Linked DNA regions of Homo sapiens: region 1 is linked to region 2. Evidence: promoter capture Hi-C in 16 types of primary human blood cells and fetal thymus (Javierre and others, 2016). All regions are on one chromosome and are shown on one strand. Each heading gives the region's core, a stretch centred on a gene start or on the middle of the fragment in contact. The rest is flanking DNA. Distances are from core to core; before and after follow the strand shown.

Region 1 (6,693 bases), core at 1,593-4,092, 1.6 Mb before region 2:
ATCCCAGCACTTTGGGAGGCCGAGGTGGGCGGATCACGAGGTCAGGAGATCAAGACCATTCTGGCTAACATGGTGAAACCCCCCCCCCCGTCTCTACTAAAAATACAAAAAATTAGCCGGGCGTGGTGGCGGTCACCTGTAGCCCCCAGCTACTCGGGAGGCTGAGGCAGGAGAATGGAATGAATCCGGGAGGTGGAGCTTGCAGTGAGTTGAGATCGCGCCACTGCACTCCAGCCTGGGTGACAGAGCGAGACTCCTTCTCAAAAACAAAAACAAACAAAAAAAAACTTCACGCTTCAATGGCATCGATCCCAACACCAACAAAGCTATAATTACACAGATACTTCCAAAAAGGTCTAACCTTCGGTGACGTTCCACACTATCCTTCAACACTACAATGACATCTTTTTCTTCTGTCATGTTCATACCTGTGTCCCATTCCATCATACCTGTGTGAGAATAACCTATTAGGTAATATTTATCTCCCTATCCTTATACTCTGTGTTGGTAAAGAGATATTGTAACCCCTGAAGCCTTCTATCTTTGCATAAAATATGTCTTTATGAGTTGTGTGGTTTGAAACACAGTGTAATAGTGATTACTCTAGAATAGACATGTTGAGATAAGAATCACTGTAAGGTTGAGTGGAACTGGGGAAATAAATACAACTTTAGAAAGAAAACTGTCAAAGACTATGGCCAAACTACTAGGATATGAGACATGCAAATTCACTGCCCATATCCTTGAACTTCTGCTTCTCCTGATGTTTGATTATAATTCTATCCCTAGGAAGTTTAAAGGCTATTTTTAGCTAGCGCTTACAGCAGGGGAGAGAATACTAATCCAGGGTCTGGCACTCAGTAAGCACTTATGGATGTAAGCAGCAAATATCCTGTAGCAGGACTCATCGAAGCATAGCACATACGTAGAAAACAATGTAACCTTAGCATCAGCATCAGTGCCCCTTCTTATTATCAAGAGATTCTAATTAGAAATAAGAGGGTGTTCATATTGTGAAGATGTTTTCATTATATCTGAATTTAAGCATCAGAGAGTATTACACAGTCAAGCTACAGGAAAAAACTAAGTTTCTAACAACATATTTTCCATTACTCTGAACATTAGGAATATGCCATATTTTACAGAATGATGATACATTAAAAGGAAATGCATACACACACACACACACACACACACACACACACACACACACAATCTATTGAGGAAAACTTTCCAGATTGTCTATACTCCTTGGTGCAGCTCTATGGCTTTATATATCATTTCATTAAAATTTTTCCTTCTTATTAGTCTTAGCTCGTCACAATTGTTATGCTTAATTAACTCGATCAATTGTGGATTACTGCCAGTTATATTTGCAGACACCATAGCAGCTTATTAACTCATAAACACCAAAAGATAACAGAAGCACTGGAGGACAAATCATTAAATGAATCTTTTAATTTCTAGCCTATAAATGGAAGTTAGCGCACGTTAGTTTGCCAGTTGTTTTCAATGGGTAGACACTGGAATAGTACCTTCCCTATGTCTAGGCTATGTATGACCCATGAGGGGAAGTAATGAATCATGATCAAGCTGATACTTTCATTACCTTTAACATAGTGTGCCAAACATTGATGTTTTATCACACATTTGTGATGTTTTCTCACAAATGTTTAATTTTTATCACAAATTAATGAGCAAAAACTAAAGATCTTTGAAGATAGATTTCTTTTCCGCTTTTTCTTTTTTTGCGGGGGTGGGGGGGTTGTTTGTTTTCTAAACTACTGTTTTACTACAACCTAGACAAACATCTGGCACATAGTAGGTGTTTAATGGATGTTTGTTGGAAAGTAAGCTGCTACTATTAGCAAACGTTATAGAAGGGTCTCGAGTTCCATGAGGGAGCATGTTTGGAGAGGCCCATGTGTGATTTTTTACATTATAGTCAAGATGGTTATTTAGAGCATGCCACTCCCATTGGGACTTCCAACCAGGAGAGGCGATTCTGAAAGCCCCCCACTAGAGCTTCTGATCCTTTTAGATGACCCTTGTTGCACCCTTCTCCTCAAATTTTTGAACTGTCAGCAATTACAAGTGTGATGTTACAATATCTGAGATCTCCCAAGTGTGGTCCTTTCCCGCTACTTTTAAAGCAGAGGGAGACATTTGCTATTACTTGGTCAATTTTTCCCAGCCTGAGGGTGTGAAGCTTATGTTTGGAGAGAGTGTTCTTTGCCACTGGGGGTGGAATGTTCTCCTGAGAGGAGTTAGTCACCCAGTTGAAAGTGCTCCCATACCATGTCCCATTTATGCCTGATATGTCTTGAAAGGTTAAAGGTAAAGCCAATAAAGGGAACCCCAAGACGATGAGTTCCGGGTCACTGTAAGATTCCTCAGTGTCGTTGAATTGAGTGAACTACTTAGGACAGACCCAACAATTAGTCTTGTACAAATGGGCCATGGTGGATATTGTAGGAGCTAAAGGGTGTGATGTATTACTAAGTCCGATAAAAAGTCCTAATAGACTTAGTGATAGTAAAACACTCATGTTTATTTTCTGTTAGTAACCATTATTCCTGCTATCAGGATAATAATTAAGCAAAATGCTACAGTAATTGAGATTCTCTGTCTGATTTTCCACCCTGAGGGTGCTACAGTATATAGTTCTATTGCAAATAGTAGAGTGAGTATAACAATTTCTGCAAGGGTGGCATAGTAAATAATTTCCATCAAAAAGAAGTTTTAATATTTGGCTCAAAGGGAGAGGTAGAAATGACAAAAAGTATTTGATGAGGTAGGGGTGAGACTGAGTACGATGAGTAGTTCTTACTCAGTTACTTATCTTTTGTGATTTTCAGCTTAAGATCTATTTTTTCACAGATATTCAGGTCATTCCTTTGGGCTTTGGTCCCTTAGCTCTCCAAGGCTTTGACTCGAGTGTGATGTATCCAGAATTTGATTCCTATGACTTTTATTCCTGAGGGAGTTGAAAGAAGAACGGTGTAAGGCCCTTCCCAGCTTGGGCTTAGGGAGGGAGGCAGGGAAAGCAGAGCCTTCACCTGTACCAAATCTCCTGGGTTAAATAGAGTGGTCCAATTTCCTGGGGTTGGGCTTTCATGAATTGTGCTAATTGGAAGTGAGCCAGAGAAGTTACATGCTTAACTAGCTTAGACGTTTCTCGATTTAATAGAAAATCATTGGTAAGGAAAGGCCATCCATACAGCATCTTAAAAGGGCTAAGACCTAATTTTGAAGGTGTATTTTTTATTTCTAGTAAGGCCATAGGAAGAAAAGTGACCCAAGGAAGGTGAGTTTCTTGGGATAATTTTCTGAGGTGTCTCTTGATAGATAACCCACTGGCTGTTGAGCTGGTCCTTGGGCCTGTGTTAAAACTTCCAGGGCCATCCCCTTTCTTTCTGATACATACAGATTGAAGGACTCCCCTACAGGAAGGCTGAGAGCTGCTGCTTTGAGCAAAGCTTGCTTTAGCTTGTCAAAGGCCTTTTGAACTTCAGGTTTCCAGGTTAAAAGATGAGTTTTAGCTCCCTGAGTTTTTTTATGACGTTATGTAATGGATGGGCTATTTCACCATATCCAGGTATCCACAGTTTACAAAATCCTGTAATGCCCCCAAATACTCTTAGTTGCTTGAGAGTTTTGGGGAGGGAGAAGGTGGAGATAGGCTTAATCCGCTCTTTCCCTAATGCTCTGGTCCCCTCAGACAACACTAAGCCTAGGTACTTCACTAAGGTTCTGCAGAGCTGGGCCTTGGGTTTTGAAACCTTATATCCTCTGCTAGATAAGAAGTTGAGAAGAGCTTCAGTACCTTCCTGAGAAGCTTCCTCAGTTGGGGCACAGAGCAGTATATAATCCACATACTGCAAGACCCTAACTTGAGTATGAGAGAACTCAGAGAGGTCTGGTGACAGTGCCTGTCCAAACAGACGAAGACTATCTCAAAATCCCTAAGGGAAAACCATCCATGTTAACTGGGTGGTCTGGCCGGAGGGATCTTCAAATGCAAACAGGTATTGAGAGTCGGGATGTAACAGTATGCAGAAAAAGACATCTTTCAAATCTAGGACTGCAAACCATTTAGTTCCCTCAGGTATTTGAGTTAACAGGATATAGGGATTAGGGACCACTGGATGGATTGGAACTACAGCTTTATTAATGAGGTGAAGGTCCTGAACTATTCTTCATTCCCCATTGGGTTTCTGCACTCCTAATATTGGGGTGTTGCAGGGGCTATTACAGGGTTTGAGGAGGCCTCTAATCTTTAGGTTATTAATAATGGCTTCTAGCCCTTTCCTAGCCTCTGGCCTTAAGGGATACTCTCTCTGGTTAGGAAAAGAAGTGGGATCCTTAAGATAGATTTGGATGGGCCTAGCAGTTATAGCTCAACCTATTCTTCCTTGAGTTGCTCACACTTCTGGATTAATGTTAACTTCCATCAGGGGGAGACAAAGAGTTTGTCCTGGGGCTATAAGGATACTGGCTCCCATGCGAGCTAGAATATCTCTACCTAATAAAGGAGTGGGACTTTTAGGCCTGATTAGAAAGGCATATGTAAATAGTAAGCCCCCAACCTGCAGCTACGGGTTAAAGGTAAATATCAGGTTAGAGTTTTTCCTGAGACGCCTCTTACAGTCATACTAAAGGAAGAGGGAAGGCCTGGATTACAGAGGAGAAGAGAGACTGGCTCCAGTACCCAGAAGATCTACCTTCCTTCCTTCAATTTTCAGAATCACCCGGGGCTCTTGTGCTGTAATGGCAGACTGAGCCGCTGGAATGGGGGTTTGAGCCCCGGGACCTGTCAATCCTGCTGGACCATCTCTGAGACTGGTTCTGAACCCAGTGACCTCTGCCTCCAGGGAAAGACCTGTCTTCAGCAGTTTCCACCACAGGCTGGACAGGGTCAAGGAAGGTTCGTATTGCTGTCTGGGCATTCCTTCTTAAAATGCCCTGGCTGGCCACATTGATAACACCTAGTGGATGCACCTTGGGGATTCTGGACTTTACAAGCTTGCAACGCTGCTACTAGAGCCTCTGTTCTCTTGTATTTCCTCTCCTTTTCTCAGGCCTCCTCCTGATCCCTATTGTAAAAGACTAAAGTGGCTATTCTCAGGAGGTTTTCTAGGGTGCTCTCTGGTCCTACAACTTGCTTCTGTAGCTTCCTTCTAATGTGGGGAGATGCCTGTGTGATAAACTTGTCCTTCAGGATGAGCTGTCCCTCAACTGAATCAGGGGATAAAGAGGTGTGTTTTATTAGTGCCTTTTTCAGCCTTTCCATAAAGGCTGTGGAATTCTCATCTCATCTTTGGTCTAGCATGGACAGTTTAGAGTAATTGAAAGGGTTGGCCCTGGTCTTCCATAGGCCTTCTATATTAGAAAAAGGGCTTCCTTTTCCATTCATCTCCTGAGTTATTGGGATTCCAATCAGGGTTGTCTACTGGAACTGCTTCCCTTCCTAGTGGAATGGAGTTTCCACCTCTTCCTCACCTTCCCTCTCTCCTCTTTTTCTCCTGGGTCTGCTATAGGAGACATGTTGCTCATCTCCGTATTTTTCTGCTGCCTGCAGAACTGTCTGCTTTTCAGCTGCAGTGAGGGTCTGACTTAGCAGCAACATAACATCCCTCCGTGTGAGATCAAACACCTGAGTTAAATTTTGGAAAATTTCTATATACCTACAGGGGTCATCAGAAAATTGGCCTAAGTCTCCCTTTATTTGCTTAAGATCCTGTAATGAGAAGGGAACTTGAACCCTTATGGCACCACTCCCATCAGGCATTTCCTGCAGAGGTAAGAGTGAAGGGGGGAGAGTAGGATATACTGGAGCTGGTAGAGCTGGAGGAGTGGATGGTATGATTGGAAGGGGACTGGAAGGGTTGGGACATTCAATAGCTGTCTCGGATTACTCCTCTGGAACCTGCTTTAGCTCTGGGGAACTATTCCCTGTGGGCTTGCCTGTTGTGGCTGCTAAAAGAACTGGGTTGATTGTACAGAACTTGTAAAGGTCTGAGTTGTCTTGAGGGGCAAAGAAAGCCTGTACATAGGCAGCCTCAGTCCATTTGCCCTTCTGTTTGCAGAAAAGTTTTAACTTTTGGATAATACTAAAATCAAGGCTCCCCACTAGCAGGCCAGGTTTGCCTGTCCCGAAGATAGTAAGAAGGGCATGCCCTTGTGCAATAGAATATGAAGTGCTTTTTCTTCAAAGTCTCAGGGCCGAAGGAGTCCCAGTGCTTTAAAATATACCCCAGGGGGGTGCATGTTGAAGACAATCTGTTACTCATCTAGAAAGAGAAGTGAGAATAAAAGTGTTCTTTTAGTCTGCTTCCTTTCAGTATGTGATCCAGGATAGAGAAGAAAACAGTAGGGGGTGTCCCCCCCACCAATTATTTTCTCTCCCTGGTTCCTGGATCCTGGCACCCATTTGAATGGGACACCCATGACTGCAGGCATGACCCTCTAAGCCATGGCACCAGAGAAACTAGACTTTTGGCCCTAGTCACGCTTCCCTAAGCAGCCTTAGTCCTCTGCCTTTTATTTCCTTTTGACCTCCTAGACTTGTGTGACCTGTGTGCCTCCCTAAAAAAATGGATCTCAAGAAAAACTACGTAATTGAGCAAGGCCCCTTTAAGGGAGGGGGCGTGCTAGATTGAACTCTATATCCTGTTATTATGGCCCATGCTA
Region 2 (5,840 bases), core at 2,228-4,727:
TACTGAATGACCAAAGAACATGGAAAAAATGCATATGAATAAATACTGAAATGTTTATGAAAGATATTTATGAAAGATATTAAGACTTCTGTGTTTAGGTATGCACATATGATAAAATAAATCTAAAAACATTAAAGATGCCTAAGTTTCATTTCTTAATGTAGGTAATAGCTTGACTCCTTCAGGAAGATGTTCATTTTGGATTCCTGGGGTGTGCCTTTGTTAATGCCTTGCTGTCCATCCTCAACCTCCCCAGTCTGGCCTGAGGTCACCATCCAATTAGACACCTCCAATACACTCTCCGTGACCCCTCCCCACAAACTGAGCTCTACTCTACTCATGCTTTGCAAATCTACCTTTAAAAAATAAAAATAAACTTCTCTGCCCAGGCTTTCATCTACTGGAATAACTGGTAGATTTCCCAGTGGGATTGTTAAAGATCTGGTTGCCCTCACAATGTGGCCAGAAATACGTGGTCCTGTGTCAGGAATTGGTGGGTTCTTGGTCTCAATGACTTCAAGAATGAAGCCACGGACCCTTGCGGTGAGTGTTACAGTTCTTAAAGGCAGCGTATCCGGAGTTTGTTCCTTCTGATGTTCAGATGTGTTTGGAGTTTCTTCCTTCTGGTGGGTTCGTGGTCTCGCTGGCTTCAGGAGTGAAGCTGCAGACCTTCGCGGTGAGTGTTACAGCTCTTAAGGCGGTGCGTCTGGAGTTGTTCATTCCTCCCAGTGGGTTCGTGGTCTCGCTGGCTTCAGGAGTGAAGCTGCAAACCTTTGTGGTGAATGTTATAGCTCATAAAGGCAGTGTGGACCCAAAGGTGAGCAGTAGCAAGATTTAGTGCAAAGAGCAAAAGAACAAACATACCACAGCTCAGAAGGGGACCCAAGCCGGTTGCCACTGCTGGCTCAGGCAGCCTTTTCTTCTCTTATCTGGCCCCACCCACACCCTGCTGATTGGTCCATTTTACAGAGAGCCGATTGGTCCGTTTTGACAGGGTGCTGACTGGTGCGTTTACAATCCCTGAGCTAGACACAAAAGTTCTCCTACTAGATTAGCTAGATACAGAGTGTCCATTGGTGTATTTACAAACCCTGAGCTAGACACAGAGTGCTGATTGGTGCATTTACAAACCTTGAGCTAGATACAGAGTGCCAATTGGTGCATTCACAATCCCTTAGCTAGACATAAAGATTCTCCAAGTCCCTGCCAGATTAACTAGATACAGAGTGCCCATTGGTGCATTCACAAACCCTGAGCTAGACACAGGGTGCTGATTGGTGTGTTTACAAACCTTGAGCTAGATACAGAGTGCTGATTGGTGTATTTACAATCCCTCAGCTAGACATAAAGATTCTCCAAGTCCCCACCAGACTCAGGAGCCCAGCTGGCTTCACCCAGTGGATCCCATACTGGGGCGGCAGGTGGAGCTACCTGCCAGTCCCCTACTGTGCGCCGGCACTCCTCAGCCCTTGGGCGGTCGATGGGACTGGGTGCTGTGGAGCAGGGGGCGGCGCTCCTCAGGGACGCTGGGCGCGCAGGAGCCCACGGCATGGAGGGGAGGCTCAGGCATGGTGGGCTGCAGGTCCCGAGCCCTGCCCCGTAGAGGGAGGCAGCTAAGGCCTGGCAAGAAATCCAGCACAGCAGCTGCTGGCCCAGGTGCTAAGCCCCTCACTGCCCGGGGCCAGCAGGCCAGCCGGCCCACCCAAGTGCGGGGCCGCAGAGCCCACGCCCACCTCGAACTCGCGCTGGCCCACAAGTGCCTTGCAGTCCCAGTTCCCGCCTGTGCCTCTCCCTGCATACCTCCCCACAAGCTGAGGGAGCCAGCTCCGGCCTTGGCCAGCCCAGACGGACTCCCACAGTGCAGCGGTGGGCTGAAAGGCTCCTCAAGCGCGGCCAGAGTGGGTGCCAAGGCCAAGAAGGCACCGAGAGTGAGCGAGGGCTGCCAGCACGCTGTCACCTCTCAGTCCAAGTTACCACTTCCGTCTTTTACACAGAGTACAAGTGCTCTATTCTGACCCCTTAAGGATTGCTCTTGCTAAGTCCATTTATCCCCGCCAAGTGGTTTTACTTCTGTCTCTTTTCCTGACCCTAGGCACATTTAGCATCAGGATACTCATCCATTTCTGAACTGTGTGTGAACAGCACACAAACCTATCACAATTTGTGAATGAGCATTGGAGAGGTGTAGGGGCCAAGGGAAAACTTTCCCTTCACCCTCCAAAGGTTTGCTGAAAATCACTGACAGAAAGAAGATTAACAGGAGAAAAGGCATAAAAACTTATTTGATTATAGTTTTACCTGACACAGGAGCCTTCAGAATGAAGACCCAAAGGTACAGGGGTGATTACCCATTTTTATACTTAGGTTCAACAAAGTATAGACAGCCATGTAGAAATACGATTGGACAAAATAGGCGATCTAATGCTAATAGACTGACCTGGCCTTGGCCAGTCTAGTTTAGATTCCTGGCCTCTCTGTGCAGCATTCCCTCCTCCTGGATATGGGATAGAACCTTCTCTAGAAGAGGAGTTTTATAACCTACAGTTGAGATGGGTCAAATAATTTATGGCCAGTTTTTACACAGAAAGGTGGAGGAAAGTTAGAGTAATGCTTTTGGGTTTTGTGTCTGGCTTCAGGGAAAGGGGGTTCCGGTTTCAATGACTCTTCTTAGGGAAGATGGGCTCCAGTTTCTATGACCTGCCTCCTAGAATGAGACTGAGAAGAGAGCAGGGCAGGAAGTCAGAGAAACACTGTTGCGTCTGAGGCCTTCACTTTGGGCTATCATTTTCTGAGCCTCAACAGAGGGAAAAACAAAAAAGGTAAGGAGGAACTGCAAAGGCAGAAAAAGAGGGTAATATAATAATAACTACCATTTTGTACTGAGCACCAGGCATCCTGCTGGGCGCATTACCTGGCTTCACTCATTTAATACAACCCTAAAGCTGGGCACTGTCTTTACAGATGAGAAAACCGAAGTTAAGAAGTGATTTGCCAGGTCACCCAGCTAGTATCTGGCAGAGCCAGGGTTCCTCCAGCTCAAAAGAAGAGCTCTAGGAGAAATACGAGGAAGAAAGGTTTTTAATTGTTGTTTTAAAGGGCCAGCATAGGCGCTGGAGAGGAAAGAAAGGCATATGCAAAGGGTGGAGAAACAAAAAGTGATGTTAAGTCAAGAGCCGAGGAGAGGGAACTGCAGGAGAAGCAAAGTGAAAAAAGGTTAAGAAACGCCTTGAGTACTGCGAGGACGTTAAGATCCAAACAGCACAAGAAGGAAGGTCAAAATCAGGTGTACGAGGCCCGTGTGCCCCGCCCCGCCCCAGGCGGACGGCTGACAGCGCCCCACCCCAGGAGGAGGCGGGACTTCCTCACCGCAGAGTGGCTGCTTCCGGTAGAATCCGGAAGCCTGTACGGAGAAGGGGCGGGGCCAAAACTGCGCGCCCAATCGGGGTGACGCTCTAGCCTTGCCGGGGACTCGTGGGTAACTTGCTTTTGGGAGCCAGCGGTATGGCGTCGGGCTGCAAGATTGGCCCGTCCATCCTCAACAGCGACCTGGCCAATTTAGGGGCCGAGTGCCTCCGGATGCTAGACTCTGGGGCCGATTATCTGCACCTGGACGTAATGGACGGGTAACTCCTCCGGGCTCCGGTCGGGCTTGCCGCGCGGCGGGGCGGATCAGTGCACCTTTATTGACTGCTTGTTGGATGTACCGCGTCCCTGTACCACCGAGCGCCTCACTCTGAACGCGATGCTAGAAGGGGTGTGGGGTAGGAGCCCTGGAGGCTCTAGCAGGAGCAGAACCGACGCGGTATCCTGGGTTGCGGCCGGGTCCCAAACCTCAGTTCCTCCCCTCCCCCCACGTAACGTGTGGTCTTCCATCACTTAGGACCCGGAAGCGACCTAAATCTTTAGGACATTTCTTCACTTTCAGCTAGAGAAACTGAGGCCCAAGGGGAGAAGCATGACTTGCCCAAGCTCATATAGCTAGTTAGTGGCAAAGCTGGGGAAACAGACTTCTCTAACGATTTAAGTTGGCACCTGCGGTTAGGTTCCCGAGTTCTGCCACTTGCTGGGTTACCTTGGACAAGCCACTAACCTCATTGAGCTTCAGTTTCATAATTTGAAAAATGGAACTACTAACAGAACCTACCGCTTAGGCATCTTGGAAGATGAAATGAGCGAGTACATGAGAAGTTTACAGTGCCTGGCGTATATTAAGTTCTCTATAATTGTTAATTACATCATTATTACAATTCTGATTTTCCTGTCTATTTTCTCTTCAGGCACCCTGCTCTTCAGGGAGGTCAGTTTTTTGTAAGTAATTTTTAAGCACCGTAGTTACAGCACATAATATTGTTTGGAGTCAGGATATTAGTTTCTGAAGTTGGTTACAGAATGAGGAAACAACCCCAGAGAAAGCAGTAAGACTCCCTCAAGATTACAGAAGATTGTGACAGACTTGCAACTTGGCTCTTCCTAGGTTTGCCAAGTAGTTCTCTGAGCCCCACTGTTAACTGACTATAAAAATCATAAATACCATTATCTTGAGTGGGGATGGAAAAATAAATTTATTTTAAATAGGTAAAAACCCTGTGTTCCCTCATTCAGTTTGCAAATTGGTGTTATTTTCTAAAGGTGATGATTTCCTTTTCTTTTTAATGTTAATCTGGCTTTGAAGAGTTTTATCTTCCATTGCTCTATGTGGTTAAATGTATTGTTTCTCTTTGGCATTTTACCCAGTTACCTTAGGAGTCCACCCAACTGATAATGACAAAACTTTGACCATAGAGTACTAAAAATAATAGGCCAAATGTGTAAAAAGTTTAGTAAATATTACCTCTCACAAAGGTTGGCTTTTAATTGGCCATTATATGTAATTATACTTATATACTTTATTTTTGACATCTTTGCTTGAAAGCCCTAAACTGTCACAGGTAATAATACCCTGAGTGTCTACCTCAAAGGTAAGTAGCTACATTTTTGTGCCTGAGAAAATACCTAGAGGGTCACAGGATGGAACAGCTATGTGTATATTTGTGAGTCTATTTGAGCAATTTGGTTTTAATTAAACTATGTTTGAGTAAGTTAATGGTTGGGGAAAGTAATTGTTTCGGTTCACCAGTCAGGATTATTAATGATAACCATAGTAGCAATGTTTATGAGCACTTGACTGTTTCTGTTCTGGAGTTTTTTTGTGAATTAACTCAAACAACCGTTTGAAATTGGTGGTGTTATTACCACCAGCATTTGACAGCGAGGAATTGGGCACAGAGAGGTTAAGTCATCTGCCAGTGGTCTCATAACTAGGAAATGGTGGAGCCAGGGTTGGAAGCAATGCAACAGCTTGTGTTGTCTCAAATGAAATGCTTTCTGTGGTTCCTAGGCTTACAGGGAATGACTAAGACATTGTTTGGCCTCAAAAAAGCAACTAATAATTTGTGTATTTATTTCTGTTAACTGTATACTTATTTTTGTTAACTTATTTCATGTCTCTCCTGCTACCCTATAAGCTTCCTGAAAGCCAAGTTTATCTTCTTTTTGCTCACCTATATATTCTTTGCTGGAAAAGCACCATAAGGTGCTTAGTTATTGTTGGCCGAATGAATGAATAGCTTAATCATAATAGGAGAAGTCTCTCAGAAGTCACTTTTGTCCCCTTGCAGCTCTATGGCAGACTGAGCTCAGTAAGGCAAAGTATTTACCATGGATCAGAGTTTTGGGAACAAAAAAATAAAAAATGAAGTATTTGTTTTTTATTGATTCCTCTTCCCCTTTGCCAGGAGATACTTTGGTTTGGAAAAACTGAATTCTGCATACACAATTTTAAAATTATTTCCCTTTTAATC

The links. Contacts are between HindIII fragments. The CHiCAGO score rates a contact against its expected background, and 5 or more counts as called.
Region 1: a contact is called between a fragment that was not itself captured here and the fragment with the promoter of RPE in region 2, in 4 of 17 cell types (M0 macrophages, M2 macrophages, M1 macrophages and 1 more). The highest score is 14.1, in M0 macrophages.

Annotation. Positions count from the first base shown.
Region 1 is chr2:208,388,055-208,394,747 of GRCh38, forward strand. It overlaps a transcript of PTH2R not described here. Among named protein-coding and RNA genes, the nearest start is that of PTH2R, 15 kb to the right of the region's middle. The HindIII fragment of the contact is 1,270 bases long and covers 2,208-3,477 here.
Region 2 is chr2:209,999,161-210,005,000 of GRCh38, forward strand. It overlaps RPE (ribulose-5-phosphate-3-epimerase), which reads left to right and starts at 3,478. Exons shown (of 6, transcript NM_199229.3): 1 at 3,478-3,623. The coding sequence starts at 3,502. It overlaps UNC80 (unc-80 subunit of NALCN channel complex), which reads left to right. Exons shown (of 65, transcript NM_001371986.1): 65 at 1-136. RefSeq lists enhancers at 3,487-3,536, 3,577-3,746. The HindIII fragment of the contact is 5,690 bases long and covers 1-5,502 here.